Regions from separate parts of the Homo sapiens genome. Here all the other regions are linked to region 3. Evidence: promoter capture Hi-C in human tissues and cell types (Jung and others, 2019). All regions are on one chromosome and are shown on one strand. Each heading gives the region's core, a stretch centred on a gene start or on the middle of the fragment in contact. The rest is flanking DNA. Distances are from core to core; before and after follow the strand shown. Region 1 has its middle 34 kb from the start of LINC01993. Region 2 has its middle 19 kb from the start of LINC01993. Region 3 holds the start of C17orf99 (chromosome 17 open reading frame 99). Region 4 overlaps PGS1 (phosphatidylglycerophosphate synthase 1).

Region 1 (4,024 bases), core at 575-3,074, 170 kb before region 3:
TAGGTGCTCAATAAACATTTCTGTGACTGGGGCAGCCAGGAGGCAGCTCTTCCTGTGTCAGGAGACACACCCACCCCCAGCACCTCCTCCAGCCGAGCCCACCTGCGCCCTGGGCAGGGCGTGGCTGCGGGCTTGGCTCCCCGCCTCCGCCTGGCCCTGGCGTGGCGCCACCTTCCACCGGGTGGCCGCGAGAATACCGGGAAGGGAGGCGGGTTCGCCTCGCAGCTGCTGAAAGCCCGCCCCACGGCTTCCCCGGGCTGCCCCCAGCTCCCTCCCTCCTCCCGCTCACCCTGGGGAGAGCGGCGCTGGGAGGCCCTGGGCGCCCTCAGGACGGGACGGGTCCCCGGGGGTGGCACGCGCCCAGGGTGGCCCAGCAGGGCGCGGCAGCCTGGGGCGCCCGAGCACCTGGCTCGGCCCTGCCCTCGGCCAAGGGCCGCCCCGGGCTCCAGCCGCCGAGCCTTGCGCCGCTCGGGAGCACGTTTCCAGTAAGCGCGAGCAAGTGGAGCCGGGCCGAGTTCCCGACAGCCCGGCCCGGGCACGGGCTCGCAGAGAAGCCGGGGCCGCGCCGCAGCGGCTGCATCCGCACCACGATCAATGCGCACCCGCGCCGCTCCGGGCTCCCTTCCTGCCCGTGGAGCGGCGGGGGTCCGAGGTCGTCCGAGCCCGCTGGGCTGCAGGTCCCCGCGCCCCCGCCCCATCATGCCTGGGTCCTCGGTCCCCTCATTCCTGTCTCTGCTGGACAAGCCTCCAACAGTCAGTCCTGCCCAAGAGCTGCGAGGAGCATTAACCTGGCGCGGTGCTTAGGGCCCTGCCTGGAGACCCCCGCATTGGCCACTGCTCTTACTATCAGATACCAAATCCTAGACTTTGGAAGCTGAACCAGCCAACCCCGTCTCTTAACTACAACTATTTTCTACGCTCACCCTTCCCCCAGCTTTTTTTTTTTTTTTTTTTTTTTTTGGCAGAGTCTTGCTATGTCACCCAGGTTGGAGTGCAGTGGTGCCATCTCGGCTCACTGCAACCTCCACCTCCCGGGTTCAAGTGATTCTTCCACCTCAGCCTCCCAAGTAGCTGGGACTACAGGCGCGCGCCAACACACCTAGCTAATTTTTGTATTTTTTGTAGAGATGAGGGTTCACCATGTTGGCCAGGCTGGTCTCGAACTCCTGACCTCAAATGATCCGCCCGCCTTGGCCTCCCAAAGTGCTGGGATTACAGGCATGAGCCACCATGCCCAGCCAGTGGCCTGTGTTTGTTACTGCCTGAGACTCCTCTCAAGGGCAGGGGCTGTGTCACGGGTATCTCCTATTGCAAGCTTGGTTCACGACCTGGCCTGCAGCGGGACGGCTGTATTATATACAGATGGGGTTACCCCAGGTAGAACCACGACCATATGAGGTGCTGGCCAAGGGGGAGGGATTATGGCTAGATGGTGGAAGGAGGAAGTTATCAGTAGAAACTATGGCAGAGTGAGGGACCACCATACACCTTTCCCCTTTATCCTGTTCATTTTTGTTTATGTTAACTAATTTCCTTTTTTCCCTCTTTTTTTTTCCTTACTATTCTACATAAAGTATAGGACCCAGGGTCACCACATAATGTTGTCCAGGCTGCACACTGCACAATTCCAAGAGGGCACTATTGGAAAAATCTATATTGCAAATGATACTTATGCCTCTGGGGGCCCTGGGGATGGGTGACTTTAATTAATCTCATGGGATTTCTGCCCAGAAGAGGAGTGAGCACCACCCACAGCTGGAGAGTGACTGATCAGAACATCAGGTTTTTCATTCTGGGGAGAGGGTGTGTGTGTGTGTGTGTGTGTGTGTGTGTGTTTGGGGCACAGTTGTATAGCATTAGGTGAAAGCTCTTGCTGCTTTTTATGCCATGGTGTGGAAGATCAGCAAGATGCTGGCTGGTGGAATCAGCTCCTTTAATCTTTTTTTTAGATGGTTGGTGTCTTGGTCCATTCATGCTGCTTTAGCAAAATACCTAGACTGGGTAATTTTCAAAGAACAGAAATGTATTTCTCACAGTTCTGGAGGCTGAGAAGTCCAAGATCATGGTGCTGGCAGGTTTGGTATTGGTGAGGGCTGCTCTCTGCTTCCAAGATGGTGACTTGGTGCTGCACCCTCCGGAGAGAATGAACACTGCATCCTTACAGGGCAGAAGGGATGGAAGGGCAAAAAATGAGCTGAATTGAACACTCTACAAAGCCTTTCTTTCTTTCTTTCTTTCTTTCTCTCTCTCTCTCTCTCTTTCTTTCTTTCGACAGAGCCTCGCCCTGTGTCACCCAGGCTGGAGCGCAGTGGCGCCATCTCAGCTCACTGCAACCTCTGCCTCTCAGGTTCAAGTGATTCTCCTGCCTCAGCCTTCCGAGTAGCTGAGATTGCAGGCCTGGGCCACCACACCCAGCTAACTTTTTGTATTTTTAATAGAGACGGGTCTCGCCATGTTGACCAGGCTGGTCTTGAACTCCTGACCTCAGGTGATCTGCCAGCCTTAGCCTCCCAAAGTGCTGGGATTATAGGCGTGAGCCACCACGTCCAGCCTTCAAAGCCTCTTTTATAAAGGTCTTAATCCCATTCACGAGGGAGAAGCTCTCCTGACCTAATCACCTCCCAAAGAACCCACCTCTTAACACTATTGCATGGAGTTATGATGGGGGTTACATTCAGACCACAGCAGTGGGAAAGCTAGAAACTCTTTCCCAGGTTCTCTCTAGATGTGACTTTCTCTCTGCAAATCAATGCGTTCTTGTGGGATTGGAAAGTGGAAGGAAGACAGACTCTTGTCTTTCTGCAGCTGCATGGGTATGAAAGTGGGTTCCAGCAGAAGCACTGGTTGGCAGTGGCTCCATTTCCCATTCTGCCATCTCAGTGCCTGATTTGTGGGTGTGGGAGTGGGGAGGATCGGGGACTGTGGTGGAGGCGTGGCCTTACCCCAGAAAGCTTTGACCTTCCATCTCTCCCAGTGATTGTTTTTCTCAAGCCCATGAATCTTTTCCAATGATTTTATGAATTCCTGATTCCTTATGTTAAAATCCCTTTTGGCTTGAACCACCTGAGGTGGATTCGCCTTGCACAGAACCCTGACAGGTACACAGTGCAAAATGCAGCAATGGGGCACATAGGTGCTGGCGCATCTGTCCAAAGGAACACTGGAAGGGAGAGAGCGAGAGCCCTTTCAAGGCTGATAGAGGACAGTCTGACAGTCTAATACATATTAAGGGATAAAAATCAAGGTGCGGAAGAGTGTGTATGGCATGCTATGATTTGTATGGGGGTAGAAAGAAGAAAGTTTGGCGGGGCGTGGTGGCTTATGCCTGTAATCCCCGCACTTTGGGAGGCTGAGGTGGGCGGATCACCTGAGGTCAGTAGCTTGAGACCAGCCTGGCCAACATAGTGAAACCCCATCTCTACTAAAAAAATATAAAAATTAGCCAGGTGTGGTGGTATGCACCTATAATCCTACCTACTCACTCAGGAGGCTGAGGCAGGAGAATCACTTGAACCCAGAAGGTGGAAGTTGCAGTGAGCCGAGATTGTACCACTGCACTCTAGCCTGGGCGACAGAGCGAGACTCCATCTCAAAAAAAAAAAAAAAAAGAAAGAAAGAAAGAAGAAAGTGTATATGTATATGCAAGCATTTGCTTTCATGTCCATAAAATATGCTAGGAAACGTACTTTTTTTTTTTTTTTTTTGAGATGGAGTCTTGTGTCACCCAGGCTGGAGTGCAGTGTGGCACGATCTCGGCTCACTGCAACCTCTGTCTCTGGGTTTAAGCAATTCTCCTACCTCAGCCTCCCGAGTAGCTGGGATGACAGGTGCCCACCACCACGCCCAGCTAATTTTTGCATTTTTTTTTTTTTTTTTAGTAGAGATGGGGTTTCACTACGTTGGCCAGGCTGACCTCAGGTGATCCGCCCACCTCGGCCTCTCACCCTGGCCTCCTAAAGTGCTGGGATTACAGGCGTAAGCCACTGTGTCCGGCCTGGAAACATACATTTTAAAAAACGATTTG
Region 2 (3,812 bases), core at 1,221-3,720, 150 kb before region 3:
CAGTCTCCCACCAGACAGGTGTGCTGGAGGGTGGGTCAGGAAGGGCCTTCTTGAGGAGGCTCAAATCTGCTTGGCTTAATCTTTTTGTTCCTGCACAACACTTTTTTTTTTTTTTTTTTGAGACGGAGTCTCTGTTGCCCAGGCTGGAGTGCAGTGGTGCGATCTCTGCTCACCACAACTTCCACCTCTCCAGTTCAAGAGATTCTCCTGCATCAGCCTCCTGAGTAGCTGGGATTACAGGCACCACCACCATGCACCAAGCCCAGCTAATTTTTGTATTTTTAGTAGAGATGGGGTTTCACCATGTTGGCCAGGCTGGTCTCAAACTCCTGACCTCAGGTGATCCGTCCACCTCGGCCTCCCAAAGTGATGGGATTATAGGCGAGAGCCACCACACCAGGCCTTTTTCTTGATTTAGAATTATTTCTTTGGGGTGCTTTCCCAGAAGAGTAAATATTGAATCAAAGAGAATAGACTTTTTTTTTTTCTTTTCTTTCTTTGAGACAAGGTCTTGCTTTGTCACCCAGGCTGGAGTGCAGTGGCACAGTCTCAGCTCACTTCAACCTCCACCTCCTGGGTTCTAACGATTCTCCTGCGTCAGTCTCCCGAGTAGCTGGGACTACAGGCATGCACCATCAAGCCTGACTAATTTTTATATTTTTAGTAGAGACTGGGTTTCACCATGTTGCCCAGACTGGTCTTGAACTCCTGGGCTCAGGTGATTCGCCTGCCTAGGCCTCCTAAAGTGTTGGGATTACAGGCGTGAGCCATAGCGCCCGGCCAAAAAGAATAGACTTTTAAATGATACTTTATTTAAATTATTTATGGATTACTTAATCTTTGTAGAAAGCTAGAAAATACGGAGAAGCATTAAAAAGAAAATTAAGGGCCGGGCGCGGTGGCTCACGCCTGTAATCCCAGCACTTTGGGAGGCCAAGGCGGGCTGATCACGAGGTCAGGAGATCGAGACCATCCTGGCTAACACAGTGAAACCCCATCTCTCCTAAAAATACAAAAAATTAGCCAGGCGTGGTGGCGGGCGCCTGTAGTCCCAGCTACTTGGGAGGCTGAGGCAGGAGAATGGCGTGAACCCGGGAGGCGGAGGTTGCAGTGAGCCGAGATCGTGCCACTGCACTCCAGCCTGGGCCAAAAAAAAAAAAAAAAAAAAGAAGTGACAGGTAGCTATAACCTGTATGGTAGAGCTCAGTGGCCCTGGCAGGCTGAGCCCCCAGGAAGAAAGAAGAGAGGGACAGAGGCTTGGCGGGGGAAAGGACAGTTTCACTTTCCACAGTACCTATTCTGTAATGTTTCTATTTTTAAAATAATGAGAAAGTGTTTCTCTTCTAAATGGAAAACAAACAAAACATGATGATCATTTTTTTGTTTTTTAAAAAGAATTCTATAAAGAACACCAAAGCTTAGCATTTGTTGTGGTCTTTTTAAAGCGGTAACTGCTGGGGTGGCCCCAGGTACAAAGTCCAGGAGGACTCCTGCTCCACTGGGGACCTCTCCCCACTGCTTGTGGGGGTGCTGTGTTTGGGTGGGGAGGACAGAGCCAGAGTAGGTCCCCATCAGGAGTGGCAGGCTGAGGAGAGGCTGAGTGAGGGCCAGGGGCTTAGTCTGCTCAGGCTGCTATGACAAAATACTTTCTTATTTATTTATTTAGAGATGGTGTTTCACTCTTGTCTCCCGGGCTGGAGTGCAATGGCGTGATCTCGGCTTACTGCAACTTCTGCCTCCCAGGTGCAAGCGATGCTCCTGCCTCAGCCTCCTGAGTAGCTAGGATTACATGCGTGTGCCACCAGGCCCAGCTAATTTTTATATTTTTAGTAGAGACGGGGTTTCACCATGTTGGCCAGAATGGTCTCAATCTCTTGACCTGGTGATCCACCCGCCTTGGCCTCCCAAAGTGCTAGGATTACAGGCGTGAGGCAGCGCGCCCGGACTGACAAAATACTTTAGACTGGGTAATTTTCTAACGACAGAAATTCATTGCTCACAGTGCTGGAGGCTGCGAAGTCCACCATCAAAGCACTGGCCGATCTGGTGTCTGGCGAGGACCCATTCCTTACAAACGGCACCTTCTTGCTGTGTCCTCATGTGGCGGAAGGGGAAACATGCTCCCTCAAGCCTCTTTTATAAGGGCATGAATCCCATTTGTGAGGGTGAAGCCCTCATGACTTAACCAGCCCCCTAAGGCCCTACCTCTTAGTACTATCCCATTAGGCATTAAGTTCCAACACATGAATCTGCGGGACACCAGCATTCAGACCACAGCAGTCACAAGCCATGAAGAAGGCGGCAAGACTCAGCCCCAGGGCCGAGGCCTGTGCTCTCCTGTGAACTCCAGCTCCTGGCATGGAACCTGGAGTGTCCAGGTGCTTTATTGTTTGCTGAATGAATAAACAAGTGTATGGATTTGGGGCAGTGTGATTGAGACATCAAGACTCGACTCAAGGCCAGGCGTGGTGGCTCACGCCTGTAATCCCAGCACTTTGGGAGGCCGAGGCAGGTGGATTGCTTGAGATCAAGAGTTCGAGACCTGCCTGGACAACATGGTGAAACCCAAAAATTAGCCAGACGTGGTGGCAGGTGCCTGTAATCTCAGCTATGCGAAGAGACTGAGGCAGGAGAATCGCTTGAAGTCGGGAGGCAGAGGTTGCGGTGAGGCGAGATTGTGCCCCTGCACTCCAGCCTGGGCAACAGAGTGAGACTGTCTCAAAAAAAGAGGCTCCACCCAAGAAGCCAGAGGGACCCCCAGAGGGAGGTTTCCATGCCAGCAGAGGTGGGGTGGCAGAGGGCAGTGCTTGGGTGGTGCAGCTTGCTGGGTGCTAAGAAGACCTCCCTGCCTGGCTCCAGGCCCGGCTCAGAGCCCACCTTCTCCTCCAGGTGGTAGCTCCTCTTCACCTCTCCCTTTTCTGTGTCACTTGAATATTTTAATGCCTGGGGGAGGTTTTGTGCTTTCCAAGGAAGACTTAGTGACTTGAATTTGAATTGAGTCAAGGCTGGCCACGGTGGCTCATACCTGTAATCCCAGCACTTTGGGAGGCCGAGGTGGGAGGATTGCTGGAGCCCAGGAGTTTGAGACCAGCCTGGACAAAATAGTAAGACCCTATCGACAAAAAAAAGAATTGAAAATTATCTGGGTGTGGTGGTGCGTGCCTGTAGTCCCAGCTACTTGGGAGGCTGAGGTGGGAGGATTGCTTGAGCCCAGGAGTTTGAGATTAGCCTGGACAATTTAGTGAGACCTCTCACTAAGTCATCTCGCTAAAAATTTTTTTTAAAAAATTAGTCGGGCATGGTGGCATGCACCTGTAGTCTAAGCACTTTGAGAGACTGAGGTAGGAGGATTGCTTGAGCCTGGGAGGTTGAGGCTGCAGTGAGCCATGATTACAGCACTGCACTCCAGCCTGGGCAACAGAGTCTAGTCTCAAAAAAAAAAAGAGTCAATATATCAAGTGTAAAAGTTGTCAATATTAAAACCTACCTTTACTTAGACCTTGCATTCCAAAATCCAACAAGTTTTAGCATTCTCTTTATAAATCTAATTTTAATATGAAAACACAATCACTTTCACTTGGGCTATGCTCAATTAACTCATACATTTAACACACTGATTACTTCTTATGCATTTAACCACACTGACCTTTTTTTCTTTTTTTTTGAGACGGAGTCTTGCTATGTTGCCCAGGCTGGAGTGCAGTGGCGTGATCTCGGCTCACTGCAACCTCCGCCTCCTGGGTTCACGCCATTCTCTTGCCTCAGCCTCCCGAGTAGCTGGGACTACAGGTGCCCACCACCACGCCGGCTAA
Region 3 (3,916 bases), core at 126-2,625:
CCTGGGCCTCATTCAAGTGAGAATGGCGTCATCATTACCCTGTACCTGCCCTTTAGCAAAATAGAGGGGGAAGGCCCTGCTCTGTAACCTGATGGCCTAGCAACAAGGGGCAAGGGTTAGTTGGGACAATATAGGGAGGTGACTGTCCATCCTCACCTTAATGGACATGAGGGGAGGGGAGGGAAGGATGGGGCAAGAAAGTGCAGGCAGAAAGATGGAGCAGGCAAAGATGAGGAAGCAGGCCAGGCTAGGGGCTGTCAGGGACCTTCCCCAGCGTCCCCTCCTCCCTGGTCCTGTACCCAGCTGGGTCCCAGACACTCTCCACTCCCCACCTGCCTCTATAAGGAAGGCAGCCTCGTGTATGTCAGGCCCCTGGGGGAGCCTTAACTTCACCATCCTCTCACGGCCCTCCTCCTGGTCAGAGAATCCCAACCTCCCAGGCCCCACCAGAATTCCCCAGCCCTCCACGGGGCCTCGCCCACCGGGCAGAGCTGTGAGGGTCTCAGGGGGGGCTTCTGCTCCCGATCAGGGACCTGGGGCAGAGTGATGAGGATGCACCTGCCCAGGGAATCTTCCCTCCAAACAGCCCAGCCAAAGGCTGGAAGCTGAGCAACTTCCCTGCCTGTGTGCCCCGGAGGTCCCCACACTGGCCTGCTTGGCCTGCCCATCTCCATCACTCCTAGGGCCCTGCAGGGTGAAGAGAGTGTTCCAGAACTGTCCAGCCATCCTCCAGCACACACCTCCCCACTAGTAACTCCCTTCCCAGCCGAGGCGCCCTCCACCATGGGGGTTCTGACACCAGGGTCCCAGCTGGGGGACTTCTCCCTGCAGCAGGCTATGCCACTTACCTTCCTCCCGTGCCTTGGAGAAGCTGCTGGCAGCTGTAAGAGAGGTAAGGGCGATAAGGAGAGGGCCTGGTGTGGAGGGGAGACCAGAGACAGCCTCGAGACCCACCTGCTGAAGCCAGGAGGGAGGAGCAGGCTGATTCTTGGTAGTGAGGCCCCAGGACTCAGCTGGCACCATCACTCACAAAAGCTCTTTTGCGCCCCTCCCCCCACAACATCGCCTCTCATCCGCCCATTTCGCAGATGGGTAAGTAGTGAGCCCAGAATGGTGCAGAAATCCCTGGACCACATATACAGCAAGTTTAGGGGCTGGTCCGAGACTCAAGCCCAGATCTTTCCCTCTCTGTCCATGTTTCCAGAGGTGCCCTTCCTTCAGGCCTCATCTCTCCTGTGCTCCCAGTACCCCCACCTGAGCCCAAGACCTCAAGGCCCCAGCAGCAGCCCCACCATCACGTCCCTGGTGGACTCACCCAGCACGGCCAAGCAGAACAGCCCAGGGAGCCCCATGCCTCGGTGGGTGTAGGGCCTCTGCTCGGGCAGTGAGAACCTCCTAGTTCCTGGCCTCCCCCACCCTGAGGCCCCTGGGATGCTCCCTGGGTGGGTGCCTGCAGTGGGGAGATAACCTGGAGGCCGCAGCACCCCAGGGCCTCAGCTACCAGGGCGGGGCCCAGAGAGCCCCGGCAGGCCCGGTACAGCAAACTCCCCCTCAATCCCCAGAGAAGTGGAAGGAGTTTGGACCTTGAAGCCAGACCAGGGCTTAGACTCAGCAGTCACCTCTGAGCCGCAGGATCCCGGGCTCACGTGGTGGGCAGAAGGTGTCCATGCTCCGCGGGGCACAGTGGCTCACACCTGTAATCCCAGCACTTTGGGAGGCCTGGATGGGCGGATCACCTGAGGTCAGGAGTTCGAGACCAGCCTGGCCAACATGGCGAAACTCCATCTCTACTAAAAATCAGCCGGGCGTGGTGGCGTGCGCCTGTAATCCCAGCTACTCGGGAGACTGAGGCAGGAGAATTGCTTGAACCCAGGAGGCGGAGGTTGCAGTGAGCCAAGATCACGCTACTGCACTCCAGCCTGGGCAACAGAGTGAGATTCCATCTCAAAAAAAAAAAAAAAAAAAAAGATGTCCACGCTGTAACTTCTGGAGCCCGTGAGCACCATGCTACGCGGCAAGGGGAATGAAGGCTGTGAGTCTTCTCATTTTGAGAGGAGGAGCCCGTCCTACATGACCCAGGTGACCCTCATGTAATCACTGGGGCCTTTCCAAGCAGCTGGGGACCTGCTGGGCTGAGAAAAGGCAGCCCCACCCATGATGGTTCACAGCCGGGAGGCCAAGGCTGCACCCAGCCCCAGAATGAAACCCCAGACCGACGAGGCCCCTGGTCCTGGAGTGTGATGGGTCCTGGAGTCCTGGGTCCCGGAGCGTGGTGTGCCCAAGCACCGCCCTTCAGAAGTCCCTCAGGCCCCACTGAGGGTGGTGGGAGGTCACATGGATGGTCATTCCCCAGGGAACTGGCCCCAGTGCTGGCCTTGGCCAGCAGCAGACCCAGCTGCATCGCAGGCAGTGTGTGTGCAGAGTTCAGCCACAGAGCCTCCTGCACATGCAGGGAGGGTGGGGGTGAGCAGGGCCTCCCAGAGCCCCGAGGCCAGGGCTGGGGCCAGGCATTCCCCGGAACACAGAGAGATGTAAGGGCGCAAGGGATTGAGGCTGGGGCCCTGCCAGCTCCGCTGTGGGCCACTGCACCCGGCTTTGTGCCCAAGCTCAGCCTGGGGCTGCTGGACCAGCCTGTCACTTTCTGGCCCGGCTCAGTTTCCCACACTTTGTGTGGGGAATGCCTTTTCTGGCTGCCTCCTTCAGGAATATGTCCCCTGCCACCAGGTGACCATTGCCTCCTGTGGGAGCTGCTGCCACCTGTGGCTCCTGACCGGTCAATCACACTCTCTGCCCCTGGGCACCGTCCAGGAGTGAACACCTGACCAAGGGAGGCCACTCACAGCCCCGGCCCAGCTCTCCTCTCAGCCTTTCCCAGGCACTTGCTGCACCGGAGGCCTGGGTGTGTTGGGAAGCTGGTCTGAGGGAGTGGCCCTGCTGACCAGGGAGTGGCCAGAAGGATGGTGGGGAGGCAGGTGCAGGTGTCCTGGAGGTCACTGCAGACTGGCTCTGTTGACCCCTCGGTGGCCCCCTCTCCCAGCTGGCATGAGTCCGTTTCTGCACCTTGCTACCCATGGTCCCGGGGATGGAGGCTGCCTCCTGTGCACCCACCGGCCTCTCTGTTTTCGGTTTCTCCCAGCTGGGGAGCAAGAGCATTTTCTCTTAGTTTCTTAGTAAAACTCCCTTCCCTTCCCAAAGTCTGTTCTCACTTCTGCTGAAGGCGGGTGGGGAAGGGAACTGAAGACTGAAGGGAGCCAGAGGTCACTGGGGAGCTGGCTGGCTGCCCAGGCCCTGGGCTGCTGGCAGCCTCTTGCCTGGAGGCCAGGGAAACTCACTCTTTTTCTCCACGTGGTGGTGTTCAGGGGAACCTTGAGTTAAGGCAGCTCATGAGGAGCTCTTCCTCTTCCCAGTCTGTGGGGAAGCTGGGGTCAGAGAGCGAAGGCAGACTCATGGGCCATTTTCCCCAGGCCTTGGGGGACCCAAACATCTCTCCTGCACCCCTCCGCCCCCAGGAATCACTTGTGCACCGGTCTGGCTGACCAGTTCTCTGGGCTGCGCTGCCCCTCTGTCCAGACTGCAGAGTAAGCCAGGACACAGCAGCCACGCCTCCAAGGTCACCCCCAGGTCACCCTGTGTGGAGTTTGGGGGCCCCCAAAAGCTCTCTAGCCACCCGCTTCAGGCTGATGTTCTGTGATTTTTGCTCGCAGAGGCCACTGTCCTCTGTAACAAATGCTCTTCCCAGCGTCTCCGCGTTTCCTCCCCCATACTGTGTCCCCAGAAAGGTCCTGCGGGTGGGACTCTGCTCTGGGCTGCCCTGGCCAGGATAGCGGGGTTGCAGGGGCACAGAAAGACAGGGCAGTCTCTCAGGGCTGGGCAGGGGAGGGCCCAGGAGTCCCCAAGGCTGGGGGTGGCTGGGACA
Region 4 (3,947 bases), core at 891-3,390, 250 kb before region 3:
TCACTGAACACTCGCTGAGTGGGCCCAGGACCCCAAGCCCAGAGCGAGGCTCCTCTGGGGATATAGTTTGCCCAAGACAAGGGCCTGGTCCACAGTAGCCCACACTCAGGCAGAAGTGAAAGGCATGTCGACGTATCATTCCAATTACAAACAAGCTCAAAACCAGGCAAGACAAACTGACAGGGAGAGAAATCAGGATAGTGGTTACCTTTGGGATAATTCCTTGGGGGGGACATACGGGGGGCCTCCAGGAAGCAGGTCCACTAGCAGCAGGTTCATGGCTGTACACCTGCGACTGGTGCTCGGGGTGCATGTTCTACTTCAATAAGGAAGCTCAGTCAAATAAAGACATGCAAGTATAACCAAAAAAGGAGCATGCGTATTCCACAGATGGGGTCACAGGGCAAGCCATCACCTTGGATAAGCACATCACCATGTGGGAAAGCTTCCCACAGCAGTGACAGTGCCTGAGAGAGAGGAAGAACGGGCAGGCTCAGGCTCTGCATGGGGTGCCTTTTGTATTCGGACAAGACACTGGTGACAGGTGACCATGCAGACACACTGAAGGGAAAGATGCTATTATCAGACAAGACAAAGCTGAAAATTAATGAGTTAAGCATCCAACTCAGGAAGACAGGGGAAAGAAACAACAGAATAAAACCAAGAATACAGTATAGGGAAGCAAAAAATAAAAATAAGAACAGGCCGGGCACAGTGGCTCACGCCTATAATCCCAGCACAGCACTTACGGAGGCAGGAGCGGGCAGATCACCTGAGGCCAGGAGTTTGAGACCAGCCTGACCAACATGGTGAAACCCTGTCTCTACCAAGAGTACAAACATTAGCCAGGTGTGGTGTTGTGTGCCTGTAACCCCAGCTACTCGGGCAGCTGAGGCTGGAGAATCACTTGAACCTCGGAGGCAGAGGTTGCAGTGAGCTGAGATCGTGCCACCACACTCCAGCCTGGGTGACGAGAGCAAAAACTCCATCTCAAAAATATATACATACATATGTGTGTGTGTGTGTGTATATATATATATATATATATATATATATATGAATAGAAATTACTAGAATGAAAATGATACAAAAATGGAGAATATCAACTGTCCAAAGTTGATTGTCTGATAAACGATTGATAAAACAACAAGGCTTTGGCAAGGCTGATCAGGGAAGTGAAACAGGGAAGGAGGGCTGTCCCAGGTCATCCTTGCTGGCTTGCATGGTCTGAGCTGGGGGCAGGAACAGACACTCAGTGCCTTTCAGGGCTGGGCTACAGAACAAAGAGAAGGACCATCCCATGCAGGAGTCTAGCCTGTTGATGCCAACACCCTCCAGGGGAGAAAGGAGTCACACTGCCACATGCTGGACAGGGCTGCCGGAGGGAGGAGCACCGGGGGGCCCTGCGCACACCCTGAGCCTCTCTGTGGACTCATTCTCCCAAGCACAGCTGGGCTCGAGTCTCCCCGCTCCTGCTCGGAGCGTGCTGGCTCTCATCCTGGCCTAAGCATGGCCTGTTTTCTCTCATATCCATGCCTGGCCCGTTACATTAGACCAGGGATCCACACACATTTTCTTTAAGGGTCAGATGGTAAATATTTTAGGCTTTCTGGGCCAAAAGGCAAAGCTGAGGATGCTAGGTAGGCACTCAGCAAGAGAGATACAGAGCTCCACAAGCTCTTTACAGATGAAATTCAAAATACAACAGTAGGAACAGTGCATGGCGGCAGGCAGAGCATCACACCATCACGGTCGGGGTCTGAGGCCCAGGGCTCCCCTGACACAAGGACAGGGCTTCCACCAGACGGCCCACTGAAATGCTTCCATTCTAGGTCCACAAGACGCAGAGAGCTCTTCTCCCAACAAGTTCCAACTTCAGCTCCTCCTCCCCAAGTTCAGACACTGCTGCAAATCCAGCAGCAGCTCTCTAAAGGCCATGGGGGAGCCACAGCCGCAGGAATCACAGGAATGCAAATGCCCCAGAACACTCACGCCAGAACCTGCCTGGTTCCAGTGGGCAGAGCTGAGAGCTCTTCCACTTCATTTTCCAGGCAGGGGGCCACAGAGCTCAAGGGAGCTGGGAGCCACAGGCCCAGGTGATAGGCTTGGGGAAATGGGCCCTAGGCGAACAGCTGCTGGCCTGGTTGCTTCCTGTGATGCAGGGCAGGCTTCTGGGTCACTCGCCCAGGCACACGTGTTCATTGCTGAGTAGCTATTTGTTAACTGCGTCCTGACCTGAGTTTGTCACCCCCCTGCTAGTTCACCTGAGACCTGGGTCACTAGGACACGCTGCTGCATACCCTTGCCTGAGTCCTCCTCACCTGCGTCTTCCCTCCCTGTAGTGCAAACCTGAGTGACTCCGCCTCAAGGAGTAGGAGTCCCAAGCCCAAGCTCCCACCTTTCTGGGCTGGCTCTCTCACCCACAGAGCATGACTGATGGTCAGTGAGTCACATCTGTCTGGCTTCAAGGACAAAAGCAGAATGAAGCCTTGCCACCCAAGTCCCCTATGCCTGTGGCAGAACCACCTAGAGTTGTGCTCTCCCGGGCCCTCACTCCACCCCACCCACAGCCATAGAAGGGTGTCAGCGGCAGCCCCTACCTTTGTAAGGATGCACCATCCCATCCACCACCTGCACCGTGTCGTCCCCCTGCAGCTGCAGGGACACATCCCCCACCGCGTCCACCAGCTCCGTGAAGAAGTCGGCAATCTCCGCACAGTCCTGCAGGAACACGTAGCGGTCCTGGCGGTTGGTGAAGTAGGAGTCACTCAGGTTTGCACTACAGGGAGGGAAGATGCAGGTGAGGAGGACTCAGGCAAGGGTATGCAGCAGCGTGTCCTGGTGACCCAGGTCTCAGGTGAACTAGCAGGGGGGTGACAAACTCAGGTCAAGATGCAGTTAACAAATAGCTACTCAGCAATGAACACGTGCAAAAGACAAAGCCAGAGTTGATCCAAGGTGACACAGCAAAGTGACCCACAGCCTCCTCCTCTCAAGGAGCCGACAGTGTAGCTGAGAAGAGGAGATGCAGACACAGAAAGTCAACTAACCACACAGGGCTTTTTTTTTTTTTGAGACAATCTCATTCTGTCGCCCAGGCTGGAGTGCAGTGGCATGATCTTGGCTCCCTGCAGCCTCCGCCTCCCAGGTTCAAGTGATCCTCCTGCCTCAGCCTCCCGAGTAGCTGGGATTACAGGTGTGTGCCACCACACCCAGCTAATTTTTGTATTTTTAGTAGAGACGGGGCTTCACCATGTTGTCCAGGCTGGTCTTGAACTTCTAACGTCAGGTGATCCCTCTGCCTCAGCCTCCCAAAATGTGGGATTACAGGCGTGAGCCACTGCGCCCGGCCCATGCAGGGCTATTTATCAGCGCCCATGTTTGTTTGTTCTCTCTGTCCCACTAAGTGACAGCTGCCACTGGTACAGTCCCAGAGCAAGGATGCAATCAAGGGCTTTCTCTCAGCACCAGCAACCCAATCCTGGCCCCACTGCCGAGGGGAGGGCCTGTGAAAGGGCCCATATTTATCAGCCTAAGGACCTGGACTTCCAGGTCTGACTCTTGTTTATTTTTCTGGCTCTGTCTACCTGACAAAGTGACTCATCCTCTCTGATCTGTTTCCACATGTACACAGTGAGGAAAATACTACAGAGGGTCACTGAGGGTGGAAACAGACAACATACCTGAGTGGCCAGCACAGACTAAGTGCCCTGTCAACAGTGGCTTCCAGTCAGCCCCCGGGGAATTCTAGCCTCAGTGGCAGAGACAGTGTCGGGGAGGTGCCGCGGGTGCACAGCAGCCAGACCTACAAGCAGGTTCTCCAAGACTGAGGGGAACGGGTTTCCCACTGTTCCTATTCCACTGCCCTCCAGCCTGCAGAGCAGGAGGGCAAAAGCACTGACGGTGGGAAGCACTCACCCGCTCAAGATGACGCTGTTGTCGAAGAG

The links. The method cuts DNA at HindIII sites, captures the fragments that hold promoters and counts their contacts. A contact is called where the count stands out against the background at its distance.
Region 1: a fragment that was not itself captured here is called in contact with the fragment with the promoter of C17orf99 in region 3 in 1 of the 25 tissues and cell types used here (dorsolateral prefrontal cortex).
Region 2: a contact is called between a fragment that was not itself captured here and the fragment with the promoter of C17orf99 in region 3, in 2 of the 25 tissues and cell types used here (bladder and thymus).
Region 4: a fragment that was not itself captured here is called in contact with the fragment with the promoter of C17orf99 in region 3 in 2 of the 25 tissues and cell types used here (lymphoblastoid cells and spleen).

Annotation. Positions count from the first base shown.
Region 1 is chr17:78,310,540-78,314,563 of GRCh38, reverse strand. No RefSeq gene overlaps it. Among named protein-coding and RNA genes, the nearest start is that of LINC01993, 34 kb to the right of the region's middle. RefSeq lists a silencer at 97-566. The HindIII fragment of the contact is 4,231 bases long and covers 1-3,939 here.
Region 2 is chr17:78,295,312-78,299,123 of GRCh38, reverse strand. No RefSeq gene overlaps it. Among named protein-coding and RNA genes, the nearest start is that of LINC01993, 19 kb to the right of the region's middle. The HindIII fragment of the contact is 9,751 bases long and covers 1-3,812 here.
Region 3 is chr17:78,143,844-78,147,759 of GRCh38, reverse strand. C17orf99 (chromosome 17 open reading frame 99) reads right to left here and starts at 1,375. Exons shown (of 5, transcript NM_001163075.2): 1 at 1,316-1,375; 2 at 849-881. The coding sequence starts at 1,352. RefSeq lists an enhancer at 133-352 and a silencer at 3,800-3,869. The HindIII fragment of the contact is 10,351 bases long and covers 1-3,916 here.
Region 4 is chr17:78,399,509-78,403,455 of GRCh38, reverse strand. PGS1 (phosphatidylglycerophosphate synthase 1) reads right to left here. Exons shown (of 10, transcript NM_024419.5): 5 at 3,919-3,947; 6 at 2,601-2,779. It overlaps LOC124900399 (small nucleolar RNA SNORA30/SNORA37 family), which reads right to left and starts at 3,521; the gene lies at 3,393-3,521. RefSeq lists an enhancer at 2,423-2,928. The HindIII fragment of the contact is 6,850 bases long and covers 1-3,947 here.